Regions from separate parts of the Homo sapiens genome. Here regions 2 and 3 are each linked to region 1. Evidence: promoter capture Hi-C in 16 types of primary human blood cells and fetal thymus (Javierre and others, 2016). All regions are on one chromosome and are shown on one strand. Each heading gives the region's core, a stretch centred on a gene start or on the middle of the fragment in contact. The rest is flanking DNA. Distances are from core to core; before and after follow the strand shown.

Region 1 (4,225 bases), core at 950-3,449:
TCTTAGAGTTAGAATGTTTCTGGTCGGAGGTGTCATTTGTGGTTTGTGGTCATGCTGACAGCCATTAGGCTGATGCCCTCTGGGTTGGATTTAGGTGGTTTTTGATCAAGGGGCACTTTAAAATGGCAGTGCTTCTGCTCTGTCAATAGTAGGATATGCCAACCCAAAATATGGCACTTTGGCATAAAGATTATTTTCGAGTCAAAGGCACTTAAAAAAAAAATGCAAAAAGAGCACTGTGGCTTTCCTTTTTCCTTCCTGAAAGCAGGAGATAAAACTTCCGTATGAAAGGTGCCCTCCCTGTATAAGGAGGAAGGGAGATGTTCTCAACACCAGAGACATGGAGTCAAAGCTGAGCTGTATCTGCACAAACTTACCGATTTTCATTTCCACTTTGTTACAACAACCTTTATCTTCTTAGTCACTTCTGCATTAACTGCACTAACCCAAATCTGTTTGTTTTCTCACATTTTCACAATTTACTACTCTTTTTAGCCTTCCCTAGAAAAATGGAGACTCAAAAGCACTTAGGGTCCAACTGTTAATTTGGGTCTCCATTTTTCTAGGGAAGGCTCCAATGTAAATGTAAAAATTACTAAATAAAATTTGTATGCTTTCCTCCTGTTATGTTTTATGTCTCTATTTTACGTCAGTGGAGACTAAGCTCTGATTTTTTTTTTAATCTTGCTCAAATTCCTATCTAAGGGGCCTAGGGATTCATGCCCTACAATCCATAAATTCTCATCAGATGGGTTTTATTTAACCCTATATATTGTGACTTACTTTCCAATCTGACACTGGCATAACGAGACAAGAAACAAAATCAAAATATTTTACCGCAAAACATTTTTTTTAGTTTTTGACATATCTTGAAACGGCTCTGCAAAGCTGTCCTTTGTTGGGGGAAAATCTGCATCTACATAGAATTTCTATTAACATAGCTAGATCATTTTCTTCCAGGTCCTCCCAATCCTAAAGAGATTACGTAAGAATCTAGCACCTTTTAAAGATCTGAATAGGAAACATTTGTCATCCATTGTCTCTAAGGGCAGCCACTATAAGACTTCAAAAGAACCTTGGTCTCCACAATCTTTTATTTTAACCTCAACATTTCCTTTCTATGGGTCCCAGGTCTTCAACTGTCAACCAGAAAATGTTTAAATTTACCTACAGCCTTGGAAGCCCCTGCTTTGAGTTGTCCCACCTTTCTGAACCAAACCAATGTAGTTCTTAAATTTATTTGATTGATGTCTCATGCCTCCCTAAAATACATAAAACCAAGCTGCGCCCCAACCACCTTGGACACATGTTCTCAGGACCTCCTGAGGGCTCTGTCACGGGCCATGGTCACTCACATTTGGCTCAGAATAAATCTCTTCAAATATTTTAGAGTTTGACTCTTTTCCTCATCAGTTTAATTCTTAGGCCCAGCCAAGACCCCAAGAGGGGAGAGGAAATATTTTCACTTTCCCTACACCAGTGTTAAGAAGCCCAAGAACGCAATTCAGAGGGCTTCCCAAATCATTTTGAAGAATGGTAACATCTCTAGAATATCAATTAGATCGTAGGGGAGTACATAAGTCATGTGTACACCTTTAGGTGTTTGTGAAAACCAAGGCATATAAAATATCACATTATTTGGCCTCAGTACATTCCCATACTGACAAGCACTGTACCATTTTTCCCCCGCTCTAAGCAAGGGCTTCCTGGGGGGAAGAGTCTGTGGTTGGGTGTTCAGAAGCAGAGAGTGCTCTCCCAAAGCTAAACGATGCCGCCAACTACTGTGAAACTTAACTTCCCCTCTCCCGGAATTCTCATGGAAGACAAGGTCTGATCAACCGAGGGCTTAAGAAGTATCAAATTGGAACTCATGGAATCACTGGCGGAGCTGATTTACATATGAGAATTCCTAAGCCTCACAGCATAGAAATTTTCATGCCAGATGGTCCTGAAAAAGTTGTTTTAATTGGCTACCAAAGGTTTACCTTGCAAACACCAAGTTCTTAAAGATTACAAAATCTAATAAAGCCGAAGTGTGAATTAAACTTAACCGCAAGAGGAGTCACCTGCGGTCACCTCGTTTCGCCCACAACAAAGATGTCTGCGCATCGCTTACCGTGGAGCCGTTCCAGTGCGTGGGCCACGCGTCCGCCCTTTTCCGCGTCACATGACCACGAACACTCTTCCGCTACGGCTCCCAGAAGGGGCCAGCCCGCGCCTTTCGCGCTTCTGCCCTGGCCCTCTGCGGGCCGCTCCGCCGGTGCTGTCCCTGGGCGCCTCCGTGCTCTCAGCCAACCACCTCTGAGAGCGCCCACTCGAGCGCCCCGGGAGCCAGAGGGCGGGGGTCCTCGCCGGGACCCTCCTGTGGGCCCAGGGGTGAGTGTTGACGTCTTCCCGACCCGCGACCTGCCGCCCGAGCTGGCTGCCAGGCCTATCGCCGCCGCCGAGACCCTCCGGCCAACAGGGACCCGCGGTGGCCCCGGCCCCCCCGGTAGTGTCTCCCTGACCCGAGTCCCGTCCCCGGGCCTCTTGCCTTCAACCCTGGTCTTTCCTCCTCCCCGGGACCTTGAGTCCCCGAGGAGAGCGAGGGAGAGGAGCGTCTTCTGCAGGTGTTTTTGGGCGAACCTCTTCACCTTGTGTGGTTCGGCGTCTCCTTTTGTGTATTAACCCGGACTTTTCCGACTGGAAAATAGGGGTTTGGGAAGCAGCGGGAGTCCCGTGAGCGTGAACGCCGGGCTTTGCAGGTCTTCACTCATCCTTCCCTGCCAAGGCCCTGACACCTTACAGGCTGACCTTAAACCTGCCTTGTTTAAAAGGAGGTTTTTGTGTTGTTTTGTGGCAAGTACATTTTGGAAAAGAAGGGCCTTGTTGGAAGCCCAGGTTGTGGCATCGCGGGTGGCTGCGGGCCACCCTGTCCGTCTGTGAGCATCCCTGCTCGCAGATGTGGCTGCAGGCAGTTGCTCTCGGGTTTCCTTCCAGGAGCTGGGAAGCCGGAGGAAAGCTGCGGTTCCTGTTCCGCCGAGCTTCTGACCTTCCTCTGCAGGACGTGTGCTACTATTACTATCGTAAAAGAACACCCCTGTCTACCTCCCACAAAGTTAGAAGCAAAGGGCATTCTCGAGGGAAGAGCACCCTTTCAAAAGTGACATGTTTTCATTGGAGAACATTAAAGGGGAAAAAAAAAAAAAAGGTTTCTGGCCCTTCTGCCCAAATATAGAACCATTTGTATTCAGGCCTCTCATCCACCGAGAGACTTAAGATGATCACAAATGTTTTGTCTCCCTGCGTGAAAAACATTTTTTCTGCCTCAATTCCGTTGGCTAATGAGAGCCCAAAAGAAAAACCCTTAGGAAAATTAGGACGATTTAGTTATACTTAGTAGTCTTTTCCCATGCAATTAAATTGCTTGGGGGACCTTCTATCTTTTGGTTTCAAAGGCTTGTATATTGGTTTTGCCATTTTTTCCAAAAGGAAATTGTGTTCTCTCCCTTCCTGTCTGATAGAGCTGCCTCCTTTCAGAATTGCAAAGTTTAGTCTTCGCTCTCCTCTCTTCTGGTATTGAAACTTTTCTGTGGGTTCATAACCTTATTTTAAAGTTCATTAATATATAGTTTTAAAAGTTTGCAGTGACTTTTTAAATATAGTTTCTTTGAAAAAGAACTGAAACAGGGTGTGCAGAGTGGCCCATCTGTGTGAACTAGGTCCACGCAGTAGGTAATAAACAACTGGAGGGTTTTTTTTGGTTTGTTTTTGTTTGTTTGTATGTTTGTTTTTGAAAAGTACATAAACATTTGCAACCACAGTCAGTTTGACTCAAGTTGTTTCGGTGACTTCCGAGGCTTTCTGGGTTCCAGTGTTCTAATACAGAAAATGAGAAAGTTGGGCTGGAATCATTGTGTCCCAAAATTGGTACACTTTCCGCTAGTGGCATGTGACTTGACTCTAGGCGGTACGTGGATGAGGATTTTTTTGTAATAGGATGTTTTTGCAATCTGTATTTATATATGTACAGCCATGGTTTAAGGTAGTGATACAAAATTTTCTTTTACAATACTTTTTTGATTTTAAAAAGTCGAGTTAAAAAAATTAACTGTAGCAAAAAGTTAATGTACTCTGTGAATATGGGAAAAAAAAAACCCATGAAGTTGGCAAGTTAGTTACTGGTGTTTGGGAACCACTGGGCTTAGAAAGTAGAAATATGAAATCATCTGTGATTCTAAGAGAG
Region 2 (4,225 bases), core at 988-3,487, 2.4 Mb before region 1:
ATATTATAACATAGAAAGAATCTAATTCGACAAAGACTATTACTCAGTTTTCAAATTGAAATTACAATGTTCTTACATGAACACCAGGAGCCGTTTAAAAGCCTGCTTTTCAGGCTCAAAAGCCACAGATTTAAAAGAGGTTGAGATTCTTATAAAATGTTAACCTTTGTCTCAGAAAAAAAAAAAGAAAGAAAACTCATGACCTTACTGATTTGCAGTTTAAAACATATTCAAATCTTTCTGCTTCCTTTCCTAGAATGACCCTTGTGGTTGAGTCTAGAAGTCCCCATATACCATTTGCTTTTCATTGCTAAAGACATACTATGAAAAGAACAAGCCATTGGTATATTATGATATCCACTATTCTGAGTTTTAATAGCCAGTGAAAAGTGCAGAATGCCTTTGAGTACCCTGGGACACAATTCTGACCTACTAATATGAAGATGGAATTTGAGAAGATAATGAGACTCTTAGGTGACTGTAGTCATGTGACATAGACTTTTGACTTTGAAAATTGCACTGCCCGGTGTTGAAAGTCTAACTGTTCAAGTGTAAGGTCTGCTTCTTATTCGTATTGGTGTCCTGGATATAAACAGCTTAGATCACCAAAGGTGGTCCATGAAGGTAAATTGAAATAGAGTTTTACTGGTGTGGACAAAATTGAAGTATAGTTGATAGGTGGTCTTCCTACACAGTGTACAGTCTTACCAGCTTTCAGACATCAGAACTTTCTTATTTATGGTTTTGTACTTCCCAGAAATGATCCCATCTCAGGCTTTCTACATCTTTTGCTCAGGAAGAAACTCATTTCTGACTTTCTCAACTTTTTTTCTGCTATTTTGCATCAGTCTTTTCTTAAACTGAATCATTTGACAATATGATTCAATGTGTCCTTGAAACCATTTTTCTTAGCCCTTGCTTTCTTTTCTTACTTTCTTTGCCACTTTACTGAGTCACACACTTTGGTGACTAAGTTCTTTATTTTTTGTTTTGTTTTAAAGTTTCTATTACTACCAGCTTGAAAAAGAAAGATGAAAAAAAGTAGCAAATACAATTATTGAAGCAGTACAAGTTTTTGCAATGAATGGCTTAATAAATACATCAATACTGCTTATTTTAGTGAATCATTAGGACACATGTAGTGCAGGAGTTCATACTGCTTAGTCCCAGAACCCACATACAAGGAGGACTAGCTTCTACCTGGTGTGCCAAAATAAAGGAAAGTGCTTCTGTGTCAGGCCCTCAACCTGGAAGAAAACTATTTTAATTCAATGTTTGATAATCTATTGAATGCCTATGAATCAGACATTGTGTTGGGTACTTGAAGTACAGATATGAACTGATTTGTCCCTTGTCTAGTAACAGAAAGGAAGTGAATGAGTAAGTGAAGAAGTACACTAAAGTGTTAGAGGGCTGGGTGCAGTGGCTCACGCCTGTAATCCCAGCACTTTGAGAGGCCAAGTTTGAGGCTGCAGTGACTTCCCACTACACTCCAGCCTGGATAACAGAGCGAGACTCCATCTCTTTAAAAAAAAGTGTTAAAAGGAGGAAACTAAGCTTTGCTGATATCAGCTATGAGCCAGGCACTATGTTAGAAGGAATGGGCCTCTTTAAAAAGGGAAACGTGTTCTTAGTGCTGTTTTTTAAGGTGATATGTTGAGTTGAGTTGTGCCAAAGCAGGAAGTATTTTCCTTACCATCAAGCAAAGCCAATTACTTCATCCTCTTTGTTCTCAAGAATTTTGTTTCAGAAAAGCCTTTTGGTTCCTCAAGGTACTCAAGGGATCAACATTATGTTATAAAATAGCAATCTAGATGTTTCTGAAAGATAATTCATGAAATAAATATTTATTTTCCATCTGCTTTGTGCCAAGTTCTGCTTTAGCTGCTGAAAATCTTTCAACAATCAAGACAGAAGAAGTCTCTGTCCTGCTAGAGGCTACTGTCTAACAGTGAGAAACAAGTGACAGAGGAGTGAAAAAGCAAACCAAGATATTTCCCAGTGGTGATAAGTGTTATCAAGAGAAGCAGGTGGGGTCATGTTATAAAGTAACTGGGTGTGAGGGCAATGTAGCTTGGAAGTCAGGGATGCTTCTTTGTAGAGGTGACATTTAAACTGAGTTGTGACTGAAAAATAGGAACCAGCTATACAGAGAGTGTAAAGGCCCTACCGAGAGGATGAGCTTGGCAAGTTGGGGGAACAGAAAGAATGCTTGATGTCTGTGCAGTGACTGAGGAAAGTAGGCTAGATGAGAGCTCAGAGAACATGGGGAACCAGATGACAGGGGTTATGGGAGGAGCTGGATTTGACTCTTAAGGCAATGGGAAGCCACTGAGAAGTTTTAACCAGAGGCATGGCGTTATCTAATTTGTGTTCCTAACAGCTTCCATTGAGTACTGTGTGTGAACGAATCAAAGCGGAGCAAAGAAGAAAGCAGGAGGACCAGTTACAAAACCACTTCTTGGAGGGGAGGTATGGTCCAGGCAAATGAGGGTATTTGTGGCTTGGGACAGCAGAGTGAATAGAGAAAAACTTTTAATATATACAGTCACAATATAAGAATACTGCCTTGGTGAAAAGTAATCTTTCTCGTGTACCAGATACCAGACGAAGTCTCTGATTCTCGGTATTTCTTAACCATAAGCATTCTAAATCAACTTGCTTTTTCATCCATAAAAGGGCATGAGCTCCTTAAACACAGGGCTTTTGCTTTTCTTGTCAGTCTCACTAGTCTAGGAAGTGCTGTTCTATATTCAGCAGCTCGTGGGTGCTGAATAAATATTGATTAAACAAACCGAGTAATGAATCATGTGTGCTGCAAGTGTGGGTGCTTGGTAACGTGGAAACATACAAGTGAGCTGGATTCTCCAATCTGCAGGGCAGAAACTGGATGAAAGACATTTAGAGGTGGGGGTGGGAAGCTTGGAGCGGCCCCTCTCCTTCCATCCCTCAATGCCTTGGGATTGGGGTGGTCATTCTATGACCACTTCACATTGACTCCGTGGAGATTGACTCCACACACCCCAGAGGAGCCTCACCCACTGCTGAAGGGAGAGCTGATGAAATGACATGCTTGCTGACTGCATGGACACTTCCTGTTGGTGCGCCACGTCCCTAAAATGTGACATAGGCTGTGGGTGAAGCAGGTAACATCAGAGATTTACAGACACGCCTATATTCCACAAAGAGTGTGAGGATAAAAACCAAAAATGCATGCAGTTGTACTCTATGTCAGCCAACTTTTTCTGTAAAGCGTCAAAGAATAAATCTTTTCCGGCTGAATGTCTCTGTTGCTTCTACTGCAACTCTGTTGCAACCCTGCCTTTACATCATGAAAGCAGCCACTGACAAGAGGTCAAGGAATGGTGTCCGTGTTCAATAAAACTTTCTTTATGGGTATCAGAATTTGAATTTCAGATAATTTTAATGTGTTTTGAAATATCATCTTTTTTTCCCTAAGCTATTTTAACAACCATAAAAACCATTCTTAGCTCATGGGACATAAAAAATAGGCAGCAGGTCACCCATGGGCGACAGTTTGCCAAGCTGTACTCTGTAGAGCAGTTAAAATGAGGAACAATCTCCACTATTATTCAAAAATAGGCAATTTTATGTAGAGATAATATCTAACACTATCCTTTTGTTTGTCAGTTGCTTAATGCAAATTAAAATTTAGCCATTTGGAGGATGTGACATTTGCTGATAGTAAGGATTAGGTAGCATTGAAAATCTCTTGGGCAGAGATTAATTGGAAATGATTCTTTGGATCACACTCCCCACTTTGTCTAGGCCTTGTTTTGTGTTTTCCACACAGAGCCCAGATGAACTTTTAATATTTAGGAATCCACACTCAGTCATTTGTTTTCCTTCTTGAAACACTCCTGTGACTTGCCCTTGCCTATAGTTAGAATAAGATGCAAACGCCTTATCCTGTCCAGCCATACCAATCTCCAATCTTGGAGCTCTTCAGGGCCTTTGCACCAGCTACCCCTTTAGCCTGAAACATGCTTTCCCCAGCATGGCTGATCCTTCTTGAGAACTCAGAACTCAGCTTAAATGTCGCCTTCTTAGAGAGGCTTGTCCCTGGTCACCTAGACCAACACAGCTCTTACCCTACTCAGATTCTATCATCAGATTCTGCCTAGTTTTATTTTCCTCATAGAATTGGTCTTTATCTGAATTATCTGGTAAATTAATTGGTTTACCTTTTTGTTTGGAATAAGTA
Region 3 (4,225 bases), core at 959-3,458, 2.3 Mb before region 1:
AACCGTGTGATTTCTGCTAAACCATAAACACCCTTGTCATAAAGGACTCTGTCCAGAACAACAAACAACAAAACAAAGCAAAAAACACAAACAAAATAAAAAGACTGTGCTGTGAATGCTAAACAACCAGGCCCTTATATTGCATATTGCTTTTAAATCTGGATAGCGACAGCAAAACAAGTGCTTCACTTTCATTTGCTATCACTTTCTGCATCTAGCATATGACTTTTGGGAAATTCCAGTATCCCCCACTCAATTAAAAAAAAAAAAATCCCTCCTACTCTCAACTCTTGAATGCCACCAAGTTCAGAGGGGAGAAAATTCTTCCTTCTAGGAATTCCTCACGCTCACGTAAACATGTTTACATATTCATTACTTCTCAATCAAAGCTCTTTGGTTGGTCAAAGGTTCCGCTTCTTACTCAAAGCTCTCTAAAATATCAAAAGTGGTATTATTGGAGGTCTGAAGAGTTAGGAAACATCAAAGAAGGGAAATGGAATTTACTGAAATAAATACTTTCCCCTCTTTACCCCTTACACTTTCTGGGTGGGTAGGAAGGGAGAAAACCTCCTGGTTAAGTATAATCACTTCCGGCAGGATGCTTTCTCTTTAAAATGAGTTAATAACAAAATTAGATACAATTAAAAAGGAGTTGCAAAGGAGTTTTTGTCTAATAATAGAGTAAATATAAAGGCATTAAAAGTGCATGTAACTAAAGTGGTAAGCTCCAGTCTAGGAAATAGATGAACGGCTTTGGGCTAAAACTGACCAAATGATTATTTGATCTCTAGTAAATGCTTCCTTTCCATCATCTGACTCTATGTAGATCTCATCCTTCTGGTTATCTGAAGCCTTCCATTGCACTAACCCACCTAAAACATTCCATAAATAAAACTCCATTTCTCTCAAAGTGACAGATCTGATGGGGTGTTTGCAAAAAGTTTACCTATACTTTTTTTAAAAAGTCTTTTCTTTTGAAATGCTCTCAAATACAATATATATGCAGAAAAGTGCACAAATCCTAAATGTATATCTTAATGAATTATAGAAAGCTATCTAAATGAACTAATTCATGCTAGGGTACAGATACACTTCATTCATTTTAAAAGATGAGCTTCTTATCAAAAAGGAATTTCTAATTAGTGGCATTACAACTTTGAAGCCAACATGGTATGTATATTCAACCAATGTAATAAAACACTCCAGTTCTGATATGAGACAAATGTTTCTAATCATTTTCGGGCTGAAATTCTACCCTAGAGAAGCTTGCTTTATGAAACAATCAGGAATGAGATTTCAGGAAATTATGAGAACTTGACATGATCCTTTGAATTGATCTTCGAATGAGTTGTCTTTCATTTATTTTCTATGGGGAATTTTAGGATAATGAAGGAGCAAATATTTCTCCTTTTGAAATGTATGTTTTTGTTCATTACTGTTCTTGGGAGGGGTGAAGAATAAGGTGGTTCGTGTCTAGGAGTCTGCAAGTACATAAGCCTACTACATACAGTGCTTTGGGTAAAAACTGACATCAAATTTGCTTTGGCATACACCTGTATTGTCCTCAACAACTGCCTTAAAATTTGGCTTTCCCAGTCATTACCCTCACTCAGCATCTCCTTGATCTCTCCTCTCCATATTCAAACACATTTTGAAGGCTTCCTGTCTTCTCTCTCTCTCTCTCTCTCTCTCTCTGTATACACACCCCATTCTCAGGGAAGAAAACTATCTTGTTAACCTGACAACCTTACCTAAACTTATTGGAGAGAGCAGAATTCAAACCCTATGGCAATCTTTTGGCAATGTCCTGGAGGATTTGTGTCCCCAAGACAGGGATTTCAGAAAGGGGAATATACAAATCTAGCAGTAAGATACTTTTTCTCAGCAGGAGTTTCTAGTCTCTTTCAAATACCTTGCAATAGAGGATGGCTTGCTCCAATACACACCCGCGGTTCTATGAGTCTGTACTGAAGTCGGATATCCATAATATTTTCCCCAACATCCTATCATTTTTCTCCCTTGACAACCATGTTTTGAGAACTTGAAGCAACAGATATGAAGAGTCTTAAGGGATTGCATCAATGTACGCTAAGATTAGTCTCTACCACATAGTCCAATGACACGGTTTTAGGTTCAGAAGGGATGCTCTACACCCACAGAATCCCACCGAGTTCAGGTGCCAGCTCAGAGAACTCATCACCTTCCTGTTTCCCTTCAAGAGTTAACTGATGGGATAGTATGCAAAGCACATGCGTTCTTGCTGCCAAAATAGCAGCCAAAACTGCCTGCCTAGATGTGTAAGATCCCATGAAATGTCTTGGCAAAAGCTAGTTTAGGAGTGTTGGCCAAGGTGCTGAAGCGAAGCAAGGGGAGTCAGGACCACCTTTGCCACTGAATCTCCCCTCCCCCACCTCTTTTTAAAGACAGCGAGCTTATTCATTTTGACAAGATACCCTAGGATTTCAAATCTGACATAATTTTGGAGAAAGCAGTGCGTGTGTGTGTGTGTGTGTGTGTGTGTGTGTGTGGTGTAGAAGGGTATCTGGGATACATAATCTTTATAGAAATTCTAGTGCCACAAAAATTCTAGGAGGATCTACATTTAAAAAAACACACAACAGTTTAAGCTGTTTATTCCAATTGAACGCTGTGTGTTTCCATCAGATCCTCAGTGAGATTCAGTCCAATGAGTCAATTGCAAAATAAAGTTTTTGTCAAGGGAATGGCAGAAAATGACAAAACCACAATTCTGAATGATCATTCAAAAGTAAAAAGTACTTTCTACTACTGTGTGGAGATTTTCTTATCTCTACTTTTACTCGAATTGAATCTTTTCTTCTAATGTTCTTTTGAACAGTTTGTCTTTGGTGTCCTGAAAATGTGCACGCTGATAGCAGTACCACATGCTGTCCCTGGCACAGAGTGAGCTAACAGTTGAACCACCTCTGGGTAACTGCGGACTGCAGCTAGTGTAAGTGCAAGAGAAGGCACCCTGGCCACCAATTCGTTTCACACTCCAATCACCCCCGCCCGCTCTACACCCCCTGGGCACCCGATGCCTCTTCCCTCTGCCAGGCAATTTGCTTCCGTTCTGTTCAACTTTCCGACCTCTGGCTTTAGAGAATAGTCCTGGCTGTGGGAACTGGCTCTGGGAAGCTTTTGGCGCCCTCCTCATTGGTGACTGGCAAGAGTAACACTTTCACACTCTTAAAAAGAGCCGTTTAGTTCCTAATGATATTTTCTGGCAAAAAAGAAAATGAAACACACAACCCGGATTCCGGTCCACCAAACGCAGGCCAAGAGCGCGGCTGCTGAGCCCCGGTCTTGCTGTGAGGCTGTTGTTCCCACTCGCTTCCCGTTTCCACTAGAGTTGATTTGTCTCTTGCCACCTCTCCCCGGCAGTGTGGACCTACTGCAACGCAGGAACATCTGGGTTGGTATGGATAGGATCCTAGCATCAGATGCTGGCTGCTGCCCCAGGGACTTCCCGCGGAAATCACCCAGCACTTAGAAGCCGTTTCAATAAGGAAGTAACCAGTAAAGCATTGCTGGTGGGAGAACCCCGCGAAACATCTTAGAAAAATATCAGAAACCGCTGGAGACCTAATGACCCACGTCTCCTCCAGCCTGTGTTCCTCAGCCCTTTCTGGAGGAGTATTAAGTGGTTTGTGGGTTTTTACCCTGCGGTGGGAGGGCTGTTCCAAGTACATCTATTTCTGCGATAGTTAACGTCGGGGGGCCCCAGCTCTAACCAGGGCGAGGACCACGGACTGCATCCCTCTCTCTCAGCGCACTGGTCTGTTTACTGGAGGGTGAGAGGGACGCGCAGACCTCCGGACTCAGGGGTTCTGTTCTGTAGATCCCCCCACCCCACCCGGGGTCTCTGGCACTCGTATCACTTAGCACCAGTGTGACTGGCGGTGCATTCCGGCCCCCTCGCGCCCCATTAAAGCCCCTGCACATCCTCTCCCACGCTGCGCTTCTGCTACCCACGCAGCTGCTCCTCTGAGCGTCCCGCGTGCACAAACGCGCCCCCGGTCCTTACGCGTCGGTGGCGCTGCCTCGCTGAGGTGGCGCCGGGGGAGCCCGCAGAGGCGGCGGGGGAGGGAGTGCGGAGGAGAGGACCCGTGAGCTGCGGGGACCTGGGCCCGCCGAGCTTTTGGGGAAGCTGGGCTCCGTTCCCCCCGGGCGCCTGGGGCGCGCGGGAAGGCGCGGAGGACGCGCC

Evidence for each region. The method cuts DNA at HindIII sites, captures the fragments that hold promoters and counts their contacts. A CHiCAGO score of 5 or more calls a contact.
Region 2: a fragment that was not itself captured here is called in contact with the fragment with the promoter of MFF in region 1 in 1 of 17 cell types (total CD4 T cells); the score reaches 5.6 in total CD4 T cells.
Region 3: a contact is called between a fragment that was not itself captured here and the fragment with the promoter of MFF in region 1, in 1 of 17 cell types (M2 macrophages). The highest score is 6.5, in M2 macrophages.

Annotation. Positions count from the first base shown.
Region 1 is chr2:227,323,052-227,327,276 of GRCh38, forward strand. It overlaps MFF (mitochondrial fission factor), which reads left to right and starts at 2,200. Exons shown (of 9, transcript NM_001277062.2): 1 at 2,200-2,376. It overlaps MFF-DT (MFF divergent transcript), which reads right to left and starts at 2,113. Exons shown (of 14, transcript NR_102371.1): 1 at 2,067-2,113. RefSeq lists an enhancer at 2,022-2,071 and a silencer at 2,252-2,541. The HindIII fragment of the contact is 6,653 bases long and covers 1-4,225 here.
Region 2 is chr2:224,925,008-224,929,232 of GRCh38, forward strand. The region is part of intron 2 of DOCK10 (dedicator of cytokinesis 10); the gene reads right to left. Among named protein-coding and RNA genes, the nearest start is that of MIR4439, 83 kb to the right of the region's middle. The HindIII fragment of the contact is 1,364 bases long and covers 1,556-2,919 here.
Region 3 is chr2:225,038,019-225,042,243 of GRCh38, forward strand. All of the region lies in intron 1 of DOCK10 (dedicator of cytokinesis 10), which reads right to left. Among named protein-coding and RNA genes, the nearest start is that of DOCK10, 2.3 kb to the right of the region's middle. RefSeq lists an enhancer at 3,157-3,496 and a silencer at 4,047-4,225. The HindIII fragment of the contact is 1,891 bases long and covers 1,264-3,154 here.